3 separate regions of the Homo sapiens genome follow, and all the other regions are linked to region 1. The links are contacts of gene promoters, found by promoter capture Hi-C in blood cells and fetal thymus (Javierre and others, 2016). All regions are on one chromosome and are shown on one strand. The core of a region is centred on a gene start or on the middle of the fragment in contact, and the rest is flanking DNA. Distances in the headings are between cores, read along the strand shown. Region 1 holds the start of COX14 (cytochrome c oxidase assembly factor COX14). Region 2 overlaps FAM186A (family with sequence similarity 186 member A). Region 3 overlaps FAM186A (family with sequence similarity 186 member A).

The links. The method cuts DNA at HindIII sites, captures the fragments that hold promoters and counts their contacts. A CHiCAGO score of 5 or more calls a contact.
Region 2: a fragment that was not itself captured here is called in contact with the fragment with the promoter of COX14 in region 1 in 1 of 17 cell types (endothelial precursors); the score reaches 5.8 in endothelial precursors.
Region 3: a contact is called between a fragment that was not itself captured here and the fragment with the promoter of COX14 in region 1, in 1 of 17 cell types (endothelial precursors). The highest score is 7.8, in endothelial precursors.

The regions. Positions count from the first base shown.
Region 1 is chr12:50,110,226-50,114,170 of GRCh38, forward strand. It overlaps COX14 (cytochrome c oxidase assembly factor COX14), which reads left to right and starts at 2,011. Exons shown (of 2, transcript NM_032901.4): 1 at 2,011-2,076. GPD1 (glycerol-3-phosphate dehydrogenase 1) reads left to right here. Exons shown (of 8, transcript NM_005276.4): 8 at 1-1,088. RefSeq lists enhancers at 1,451-1,500, 1,561-1,820, 2,041-2,280, 2,291-2,340. The HindIII fragment of the contact is 7,994 bases long and covers 983-3,945 here.
Region 2 is chr12:50,348,751-50,352,695 of GRCh38, forward strand. FAM186A (family with sequence similarity 186 member A) reads right to left here. Exons shown (of 8, transcript NM_001145475.3): 4 at 1,579-3,945. Among named protein-coding and RNA genes, the nearest start is that of FAM186A, 46 kb to the right of the region's middle. The HindIII fragment of the contact is 1,279 bases long and covers 1,437-2,715 here.
Region 3 is chr12:50,330,954-50,334,898 of GRCh38, forward strand. FAM186A (family with sequence similarity 186 member A) reads right to left here. Exons shown (of 8, transcript NM_001145475.3): 5 at 2,958-3,150; 6 at 717-868. Among named protein-coding and RNA genes, the nearest start is that of LIMA1, 49 kb to the left of the region's middle. The HindIII fragment of the contact is 1,830 bases long and covers 1,069-2,898 here.

The DNA of each region.
Region 1 (3,945 bases), core at 761-3,260:
CAGGGACTTCCCGGTTCCTAGTTCTTTGCCAGCTCCTCCCCACTCTGTGCGACCTTTCCAAGCCTTCCCTCACCCTCCCCGCCAGCACCCTCTTTGGGGAGCAGGAACTTAATCTGCTGACAGAGCTACACCTTTCATAACAGGCTCAGATCACTCAGCTCCCTGTGACCTTTGTATTCACCCAGGCTTCCTTCTCAGTAGCTCTAGCTGGGGGAGGTGTCAGCTGGGCCCCTCCTGTGCTATCTCCCCAGAGGACATCCCTGACTCCACCCCTTTCTTCCTCCCAAACTCTGCACCTCTTCCTCAGCTGCTCCAGACCGGCCAGGGTAACCAGCTAACCATGCCTGGCATCTGGAAGCCAGCAGGCCAGAGGGTGGCCCAAAGGCTGATGAACGGTAGGGAAGGGTGAGCAGATTCCTATGTTGGTGGGCACCAATATTCCAAGGGCAGCTCTCTTTGCTGAATGAGGGCCTTCTCGTGAGGTACTGACAACACCAGCAACTCGAGAGCTGGGAAACTCAAGGAGGAGGAAGAAAATCAAAACCACCCTACTCCCTGGGGTGAGGAAAGAACAGGAGGGGAGGAGGAGGAGTGTGCTCTGCACTTGCCTTGCTCCAGGATGGGGTGGCAGCAGAGGAATGTCACAGGTCAGCAGCCTAGGCCTCCAGCTATAAATAGTCCGGAGGGCCCGAGAGGCTCCCGCCCGTCCAGCAGGGCTGTCAGCTTCCTGTGTGGCAGCACCTGGCACACTGGCTCTGGCCAGCATTATGCTAAAACCCTGTTACTCTCCAATGAACCAGGGAGGCGGGCTCCTCTCTGCGCCTATCCCTTGAGAATTCTGTCTTACCAGTGAAGGGTGGGGCTGCCCAGATCAGGCAGCAGGAGTGAGGGGCACAGTCACCCCAGGCCTTGCTGAGCCCAGGTCTGGGTACTGAGTGTCCAGAGCTGCCTCCCCAGGAGGTTAAGGTGGGGGCAAAGGGGAAGCTTCAAGCACTTTGCCTACTTTTGTTCACTCCCCAGTGCACTGTGACTCAGGCCTTCCCATCAGGCCTATTTGTCTACCCAATAAAGCGTGTTTTTTCCAGAAACAAGAAGAGTTGGGAGAGGGAGCTTCAGTGCATGTGGCAGTGCGTGTGCTGGCGCGTATCATTGCACGTATGTTTTCCCTCTTACCGTAGGAAAAATGAAAAAAGAAATCCCTCCTCCATAATCGCAGCTACTCCAGGGGTCAGCGGCGGTGCCCACTCAGTCCCCATCCCTCTCTCTCCCCTCCCGCCAGCGCCCCCTCCCGCCCTCGCCGCAAGCTGGCCCCGGCCTTGCCGGCCCTTCTTAGGGGCTTTATCATGCCTCCTGCAAGAATAGAGATCACACACGGGACGGAAACGTTAGACTCTCATCCCTTGTGCCCATTCCTTGGTCACGGGCCAAGCTGCCGCATCCTTAGCGGTCCAGGCATCGCGGTGCCCCTCGGGCCCCTACCTGGACTAGGCCCACAGCCGGGCTCTAGGGGGCGCGCGATCCACCTCCAGAAGGCCGGCTGCGAAAATCTACCCAGCTACTGGCGACGTCACCGCACCGTAGGCTGAGGATTGGCTGACTCTGATTTAGCATCCTAAAACTTCCGGTTCCAGAGCTTGGCTCGCCAAAGACCCTCCCTCGAGGGAGAGAAACCACAGCCCCCAGAATTCAGCGGGCCTCTCCGAGAGCACGGCGCGTCTGAGGATGCGTAGTAAGGATAACGGGCCCGGAAGCCGGAAGTTCAAAGCCGGCCTCCAGCCAGAGTGACGGCCTGCGCGGACTCCCGCCTTAGTGGGCGGAGTTGTGCCGCGTCTGATGCGCAGTTCCCTTTATAGCGCGGCAAGCCGAATCCTAGAGGCTAACCCGGCAGGTGGGAGGGAGAAAGTTGCTTTCTGCACCAATAGCTGAGGCGTTCAGGGTTGTCCAGGGACGCTACCCTCACGTGTCTGGTTCCGAGTGCTGCGTTCGGCTGTGCTGGGAAGTTGCGTAGACAGTGGCCTCGAGACCCTGCCTGCCTGAGGAGGCCTCGGTTGGATGCGAAGGAGCTGCAGCATCCAGGTACGCTGCCGGCTAGGGCCGAGCAGGGGCTGCCAGTCCCACTGCCTGCGCGCCCACCTGGGCCAGTCTCCGCTTGCCGCGTCCTCCCATCCCCTAGTCTGCAGGCCTGGTGCCCTTGAATTCACCCGCTTCTGTTGCGTTGCGGACCGCGAGCTGCACTGCTTCCTGCCCAAGCCCAAGCTCCTCGCAGCAGTAGGTCAGTCTTGCTAGAGCTCAGCGCTAATCCTGTCAAACCTCGACTCCTGCCTGGCGTCTCGACCCTCCACGCTCCAACTCTGCCTCTTCCTTGCTCTATAGACCTCTGCGTCCTGATAAGTGGCTCTCCGGGGCACCCTTCGTGCATATCGGCTATCCAGCTCCACCTCTTGACCGCTTTCACTTCCTGGAATGCTCTCACTGCTCCTCTTCTCCAGGCCATCCTTCTAAAAAGACAGTTCCACTCCCACCCCGATTCCCACCCCTACACCTTTCTGCTAAGTTTTCTCAAGCCCCCACCCTGTCTTTGAGCTGTTGTCTCTGAACTCTCACAGTGCCTCTCCATGAGACCATAAGCTCCTGTATGACAGAAGCCATGTTCTTTTTAGCGGCCTCCGTAGCATGATGTACGTTATGTTATGTTATGTTATGTTATGTTATGTTATGTTATTTTGAGACAGGGTCTTGCTTTGTCGCTCAGGCTGCAGGTGTGCGCCACCACGCCCGGGTAATTTTTAAAAAAAGGTTTTTTTTTTGTTGTTGTTGTTGTTGTTTTTAAATAGAGAAAAGGTCTCCCTATGTTGCCCAACCTGGTCTCCAACTCCTGAGCTCAAGCCATCCTCCCGCCTCGGCCTCCCAAAGTGTTGGGATTACCGGCGTGAGCCACCGTACCCGGCCGATGTACTACTCTCTAAGTGCCAAACAAAAAGTAGATAAAAGATGATGGATACCTTAAAAGCCCTGAGTTGACCACTATGCAGTGTATGCATGTAACAAAATCGCACTTCTACCCATACGTTTACGCAATTTTTTTTTTTTTTTTTTGAGACGGAGTCTTGCTCTGTCGCCCAGGCTGGGGTCCCGTGGCGGGATCTCGGCTCACTACAAGCTCCGCCTTCCGGGTTCATGCCATTCTCCTGCCTCAGCCTCCAGAGTAGCTGGGACTACAGGTGCCCGCCACCACGCCCGGCTAATTTTTTGTGTTTTTAGTAGAGATGGGGTTTCACTGTGTTAGCCAGGATGGTCTCGATATCCTGACCTCGTGATCCACCCGCCTCGGCCTCCCAAAGTGCTGGGATTACAGGCGTGAGCCACTGTACCCGGCCGTTATTTTATTTATTTATTTATTTGTTTGTTATTTTATTTATTTTTTTGAGACGGAGTCTCGCCCTGTCGCCCAGGCTGGAGTACAGTGGCGCGATCTCGGCTCACTGCAACCTCCGCCTCCCGGGTTCAAATGATTCTCCTGTCTCAGCCTCCTGAGTAGCTGGGATTACAGGCATGTGCCACCATGCCTGGCTAATTTTTGTATTTTTAGTCAAGACAGGGTTTTATCATATTGGCCAAGATGGTCTCGAACTCCTGACCTCAGGTTATCAGCCCACTTCTGCCTCCCAAAGTACTGAGATTACAGGTGGCTCACGCCCAGCCTTTTTTTTTTCTTTATTATCATTATTATTATTATTTTTAGAGACACAGTCTTGCTCTGCAAGTGCAGGGCCGTGATCACAGCTCACTGCAGCCCCAAACTCGTTGGCTCAGGCAAGCCTCCCACCCAAACCTCCCTAGTAGCTGGGACTGCAGGTGCATGTCACCACACCCAGCTATGGTTCTCAATTTTTATTCTAGCCTAACACACTGGAAAGATACAGTACACCTCCATCAGTGGCAGTG
Region 2 (3,945 bases), core at 826-3,325, 240 kb after region 1:
TTTCACCATATTGGCCAGGCTGGTCTTGAACTCATGAACTCGTGATCCACCTGCCTCGGCCTCCCAAAGTACTGTGATTACAGATGTGAGCAACCACGCGTGGCCATTTTTTTGTTTGTTTTTCTTTTCATTAAAAAATTTTTTTGTGGGTACATAGTAGGTATATATATTTTGGGGGTACAGGAGATGTTTTGATACAGGAATGCAATGTGTAATAATCATATTAAGGTAAATGAGGTATCCATTGCATCAAGCATTTATCCTTTGTGTTACAAACAATCCAATAATCCAATTATACTCTGTTATTTTTAAATGTACAATTACATTATTATTGACTATAATCACCCTGTTGTGCTTTCAAATGCTAAATCTTATTCATTCTTTCTATTTTTTTGTACCCATTAACCATCCCTACTTTCCCCCCACCCCCACTACCCTTTCTAGCCTATGGTAACCATCCTTCTCTTTTTTTTTTCCCTGAGACTGGGTCTTGCTCTGTCACCCAGGCTGGAGTGCAGTGGCGCGATCTTGGTTTACTGCAGTCTCAACCTCCTGGGGCTTGAGTGATCCTCCAAGCTCAGCTTCCTGAGTAGCTGGGACTACAGGCATGCACCATCATGTAGAGACAGGGTCTCAATTTGTTGTCCAGGCTTGTCTCAAACCCCTGGGCTCAAGTGATCCTCCCCCCTCAGACTTCCAAAGTGCTGGGATTACAGGCGTGAGTCACTGCACCTGTCCCATCCTTCTACTCTATGTCCATTAGTTCAATTGCTTTAATTTTTAGCTCCCACAAATAAGTGAGAGCATGTGAAGTTTGTCTTTCTGTGCTCAGCTTATTTCATTTAATATAATGACCTCTAGTTCCATTCATGTTGTTGCAAATGGCAGGATCTCTTTTTATTATTATTATTATTATTTTGAGACAGAGGCTGACTCTCTCACCCAGGCTGGAGTGTAGTGGCATGATCGGCTTATTGCAACTTCCACCTCCCGGGTTCAAGCGATTCTCCTGCCCTAGCCTCCCAAGTAATCCTGGGATTACAGGTGCACGCAACCATGCCTGTCTAATTTTTGAATTTTTTGCAGAGATGGGATTTCGCCATGTTGGCCAGGCTGGTCTTGAACTCCTGGCCTCAAGTTATCCACCTGCCTCAGCCTCCCAAAGTGCTGGGATTACAGGCATGAGACACTATGCCTGGTCTCATTCTTTTTTTATGCCATCTCCCATTTTAAAAATCATACATTTCTGGTGAACCAAAAATGATGAAAGAAATTCAGAATAACTGGAAACTTTTGAAATTGATGTTTTGGAGACCAACCATGATCCACAAAATATACTTGGCATCTCCGCTGGAGATATATATGGATGAAATGGATCACGTTATATGTCATTTCTTATTTTCCAAAAAATATATCTCCTTTTGCTATCTTAAACAAGCTTCCTTCCCATAGACCTTATATAAGGCAGTCCTTTAGAACATATGGCCTGACAAATATGAATATACTTCTGGGACAATGACAGAAAATATTTGCAATCAGAACTAAACCAGAAAACTAGACGTAAATAATTATATCTACCTGGCATGCTGGATCAGCCTATAGGCAATGTACTTGCGGAATAAGTATCCCAACTGAACTGTGTCCATATGAAGTATCTCAATTATGAGAGTCCTAGCCATTGTGTGTAGCTGTGAAGGGAGTCCACAAGTTTTTATAGCCTGATTTAATAGTATCAGGTTCTTCTTCTGAGCCTCCACATCAACAAAATACCTCTTTTCTTCAAGTTCTTGAGGAGAGGAAGGGGGCACCATTACTTTGGGTTTCTTGGTATCTGAAACTGAACTCAGTATCCAGGGCTTGTCTATAGGAGGGAATCGGGATTTCTGGTACCATTCCAAAGGTGAAATCTGTGATGTTCTGAGTAGAGTAGTGAGAGAAGATGGTGATGTTGTTGGCTTCATGAGAGTGAGAAGGGCCCTTTCATCAGTGTAAGGGGTTTGGTATACTGGTGTCCTATATTTGGTGAAATGGGACTGAAATGTTCTAAATGATTCTATAGCAAAAGTGTCTCGAAGTATCTGGGTTTCTTCGGAAGTGTCAGAGACCTCCGACATTTGGAACTTCTTAGTGGTGAAAGGAACTTGAGCTACCTTGAAATCTGGAGCACTAGGATGGATCAATACTGATTTAGATTTCAGAGAAGAAATAATTGCCAATCTTTTCTTAGCAACAGAAGGGGACCAACTTTTCTGGGGCTTTCCAGGGGCTGGGGACGGCCATAGTGTGGGAGGATGTCTAGAGGTGGGAGGGATCCATAATGAAGAAGCTCGCCCAGGAAGGGTCCATGTTGCCAGATGCTGCCCAGGGGTAGAAGGAGCCTGCAGATAGGGAGATTGCTCAGCAGTGGCAGGAGGCTGGAATTCCTGGAGCTGCTCAGAGAAGGTTAAGGGTCCAGATTCCAGGAGGTCCCCAGGGATGGAAGAGGCTTCAGGAACTAAGGGCTGCCCAGGAGAAAGAGGAGCCCAGAGACTTGGAATCTGTCCAGAAGTGGGTGGAACTCCAGCTATAAAGGGCTGCCCTGGAGTGGGAGGGGCCCGAGATATTGGGAGCTGCCCAGGGGAGGGAGGGGCCTGTGGTGCCGGGAACTGCGCAGAAGTGGATTGACCTCCGTATACCAGGGTCTGTCCAGAGGAACGAAGAGTCTGTGGTGCCCCAAGCTTCCCAGGCTCAGAAAGAATCCCCATTTCTAGGGGCTTCCCAGGGGCAAAGGGGCCTTGGTTGAGGGGAACCCTTGATATCTGCAAAGGAGTAGAAGAGACCCCGAATATAGAGGACTTCTCAGCAGTAGGAGCTGATGATGCCAGGGACAGCCTAAGACTTGGAGACAATCTTGATATGATGGATTGCCCAGTGGGGAGAGAAGCCTTCGATTTCTGAAATGGTCTATGGGACCACTGGACTTGCTTAAGGGTGAGGGGCGATCCCAAGGTATGGGCTTTATCTAAGGTGAGAGGAACCCCTAACTTCAATAACTGTTCTTGAGCCTGTTCTAAGTTCATAGGGGACTCCAAAGCGTGGGTTTGCTCAGAGGTAAGAGTGACAGCTGACACCCAGGCATTTACTGGGGTGATGGGGACTCCCAGTGCCTGGGCCTGCTGAGGGGTGAGAGTGATCCCCTGAGCCTGCGCCTGCTGAGGGGTGAGAGAGATCCCCAGAGCCTGGGCCTGCTGAGGGGTGAGAGGGATCCCCTGAGCCTGCGCCTGCTGAGGGGTGAGAGGGATCCCCAGTTCCTGCGCCTGCTGAGGGGTGAGAGGGATCCCCAGTTCCTGCGCCTGCTGAGGGGTGAGAGGGATCCCCAGGGCCTGGGCCTGCTGAGGGGTGAGAGGGATCTCCAATTCCTGAGCCTGCGGAGGGATGAGAGGGATCCCCAGGGCCTGGACCTGCTGAGGGGTGAGAGGGATCCCCAATTCCTGAGCCTGCGGAGGGATCAGAGGGATCCCCAGGGCCTGGGCCTGCTGAGGGGTGAGAGGGATCCCCAATTCCTGAGCCTGCGGAGGGATGAGAAGGATCCCCAGGGCCTGGGCCTGCTGAGGGGTGAGAGGGATCCCCAATTCCTGAGCCTGCGGAGGGATGAGAGGGATCCCCAGGGCCTGGGCCTGCTGAGGGGTGAGAGGGATCCCCAATTCCTGAGCCTGCTGAGGGGTGAGAGTGATCCCCAGCTCCTGAGCCTGCTGAGCGGTGAGAGGCATCCCCAGGGCCTGGGCCTGCTGAGGGGTGAGAGTGATCTCCTGAGCCTGTGCCTGCTGAGGGGTGAAAGGGATCCCCAATTCCTGAGCCTGCTGAGGGGTGAGAGGGATCCCCAGTTCCTGAGCCTGCTGAGTGGTGAGAGGCATCCCCAAGGCCTGAGCCTGCTGAGGGGTGAGAGGGATCCCCAGTTCCTGAGCC
Region 3 (3,945 bases), core at 734-3,233, 220 kb after region 1:
TTGCATGGCTTCACCTAGTAATCCATTTTAAAACTACCATTTTAGCTTCATGGCGTAGAGAGACCACATAACTTGCCCCCTTCCTTCCCAAAGCTCCTGCCTCCTTAAAAAAAAATAGAAGAAAAAGAGAAGATAATGCTTCTAAGTTTCTTTATTAAATATTCTTAAAAGAATTTGTTTTTTAGTAAGAAAGAATCAGCTTTATTTTTAGAGGAACTCACAATCCAATGTTAAATATTTAAGTAGAAATATATGTAAATTAACCTCTTGCCAATTTAGCTAAGGGAATTAATACTCTTTTTTTTTGAGACAGAGTTTCGCTGTTGCCCAGGCTGGAGTGCAATGGCACGATCTCGGCTCACCGCAACCTCTGCCACCCAGGTTCAAGCGATTCTCCTGTCTCAGCCTCCCAACTAGCTGGGATTACAGGCATGCACCACTATGCCGGGCTAATTTTGTACTTTTTTTAGTAGAGATGGGGTTTCTCCATGTTAGTCAGGCTGGTCTTGAACTCCCGACCTCAGATGAGTCACCTGCCTCGGCCTCCCAAAGTGCTGGGATTACAGGCATGAGCCACCGCGCCCAGCCTAATACTCCTTTAGACTCTCCATTGCACCATTTGATAATTGTGGAGAAAGGGAAGTTCTTGGGCAGGGAAAAAAAAATTAGGTCCCACATATCGTCCAAAGTTTAATATCAGTCTTTCTAGCACATACCTAAATTTCTTGCATATGTCAGAGGTTCTGTCCTCTTCCATTAGTAATTTTAAGAATGGCTTTTGAACAAATGTGGTAGAGGCAGGTATCTGCTTTTCTTCGATGATTAAGGGGATAGGTTGACTAAGATTCAATTCATGTATCTTTTTGAGCTATAAAAAAAAATAGATCAGAAAAAGGAAACCATGAAAAGAGACAGAATCTTTAGAAGGGTCTTCAGAGCTGGCCCTAGACTAAACTGTGACTCCTCCTTTTCCATGGATTTGCAAATCCTCTCCCTACTCCACCCACCTCCAACATGCATCATTTTAGAGGTGGCAGCTCTGCTACATAAAAACCTTTGTCCTACTTAAGCTTAAGTCCTGGTCCTCTTATTTTCTTGCTGTGAGACTTTGGGATAGTTGCTTAATTTATCTGCACTTCTTTCTCCTCATTTCTAAAACAGGGATAATAACACAGGGTTGTGAGAATTGTAAAACACAGTATATATGGAAGCACTTTATAAATTGTGATGCAGTATGCAACTGTAATGATAGCCAGCATTTACTAAATACTTAGTGAATGTCAGACACTGAACTAAGCATTTTCCATATATTAGCTGATTTGGTATTTATAACAACCTTATGCGGTATGTCTTATAATTACCCTTGTCTTACAGCAGGAAAATCTGAGGCTCAGAAAATGTAAGCGGCTTGCATAAAGTCACTTAGCTAGTATGTAGCTAGCCTGATTTGAACCCAGACAATCTGGTAGCGGAGCTAGCCATCTTGACCACCATGCTGATTCAGTGCAAAGTATTCATTCATATCTAACCTCTTATCCCTTTTGCTTTTTTTGTCTCCTTTCTCCAAGCCTTGATACCCATACCTCATCCTCTGGATTCTGGCTTCCCTGGCCCCAGACCCTTATTCCTCCTCTGAAATGCCCTAGGCATTGTGATTCCTGTTAGATAACGCATGTTGCTGCCAACCCATCTTGCTTTACTCTATGTACATTGGCCATATTTGCCAAATCAAAAAAAGGAGAATATTCATTTTTTTGACAAAGAGCTGTAATATTTAAAATATAACTGTTCTGGGCCGGGCACGGTGGCTCAAGCCTCTATCCCAGCACTTTGGGAGGCTGCCATGGGCGGTTCACTTGAGGTCAGGAGTCCAAGACCAGCCTGGCCAACATGGTGAAACCCCATCTCTACTAAAAATACAAAAATTAACCAGACATGGTGGCAGGCACCTGTAATCCCAACTACTCGGGAGGGTGAGGCAGGAGAATCACTTGAACCCAGGAGGCGGAGGTTGCAGTGAGCCGAGATCACGCCACTGCACTCCAGCCTGGGTGACACAGTGAGACCTCATCTCAAAAATAAATAAATAAATAAATAATAAAATAAAATATAACAGTTCTGAAAATTTACAATATATGTTTGACTTGGATTAGGCTCTGATGAGAAGCCTCTCTGTACCTTCCAAAGTAGCAAGTAAACTAATCTTATAAATTAATCGATTTTAAGGAAAGACAAGGATATACAGATATAAAATGTTTCTAGAACCACAGCTTGTAATATTTACTATAAGAACTCAGGCCAGGCGTGGTGGCTCACGCCTGTAATCCCAACACTTTGGGAGGTTGAGGCGGGTGGATCACCTGAGGTCAGGAATTCGAAACCAGCCTGGCCAACATGGTGAAACCCCATCTCTACTAAAAATATAAAATTTAGCTGGGCATGGTGGTGGGCGCCTGTAATCCCATCTACTCGGGAGGCTGAATCAGGAGAATCTCTTGAATCCAGGAGGTGGAGTTTGCACCGAGTCGAAATAGTGCCACTGTACTCCCTGGGAGACAGAGCAAGACTGTCTCAAAAAAACGAAAAACAAAGCAAAACAAAAAAAAAGGCCATTTGAAAGATGGAGGCGGAGATTGGAATTATGTGGCTACAAACTGAGGAATGCTAAGGATTGCCCATAGCCACCACAATCTAGGAGAGAAGCATGCAACAGAATGCCCTCTCAGAGCTTCTAGAAGGAACCAACCTGGCAGACACCCTGATTTCACTAACTTCTGGCCTCTAGAACTGTGAGAGAGTAAATTTCTGTTGTTTTAAGCTATGAAGTTTGTGGTAATTTGTTACAGCAGCCCAGGAAAGTAATATGACATGGTGTCTCCAGGTAAATGTCATTTACAAAGCTTACCACTTTCATGTTTTTACAACATGCTGGACAGAGGGAGTGGAAAGCAGGTTACCTGGTTGAATACGTGTATCATTTTCTTCAGGCACTGATTCCGTTTCTGCCCTAGAGACTTCTGCTTCTCAGTCCAGACCTGCATCACCTTTTTCCCGTAGTCATCAAGTCTGCTCAGCATCATGTGGAGGTTCCTGGCCTCATAGCCTTTCCCAGTATTTTGGATGGCTTTTAGTCGTTTCATTATGTTGTTCCTTGAAAAGATTAATAAAAATTAGAGCGATAATAGTTGCAGACCCTACTTCAACAAACTTGTCCTCAGTTTCTTTTTTTTTTTTGAGACGGAGTTTCGATCTTGTTGCCCAGGCTGGAGGTGCAATGGTGCAATCATGGCTTATTGCAACCTCCACCTCCTGGATTCAAGAAATTATCCTGCCTCAGCTTCCTGAGTAGCTGGGACTACAGGTGCGCACCACCATGCCCAGCTAATTTTTGTATTTTTAGTAGAGACGGGGTTTCTCCATGTTGGTCAGGCTGGTCTCAAACTCCTGACCTCGTGATCCACTTTCCTTGTCCTCCCAAAGTGCTGGGATTACAGTCCTGAGCCACTGAGCATGGCCTCTTTTTAATTTAATTTTATTTTTTTGAGACAGAGTCTCACTCTGTTGCCCAGGCTGGAGTGCAGTGGTGTGATCTTGACTCACTGCAACCTCTGCCTCATGGGTTCAAGCGATTCTCATGCCTCAGCCTCCCAAGTAGCTGGGAATACAGGTGTGCACCACCACGCCCAGCTAATTTTTGTATTTTTAGTAGAGATGGGGTTTTGCCATGTTGTCCAGGCTGGTCTTGAACTCTTGACCTCAAGCGATCCTCCTGCCACAGCCTCCCAAAATGTTGGGATTACAGGAGTGAGCCACTATGCCCAACCTGTCCTCAGTTTCTTTCAATTCTCTCATCATCCCCAGTAAGTAGAGAAGGATGGGAAGCTTGCTTAATAAGACTTTAATCCAGTTCCTATGAATGAACCTTCAAAAATCTATATGATTATC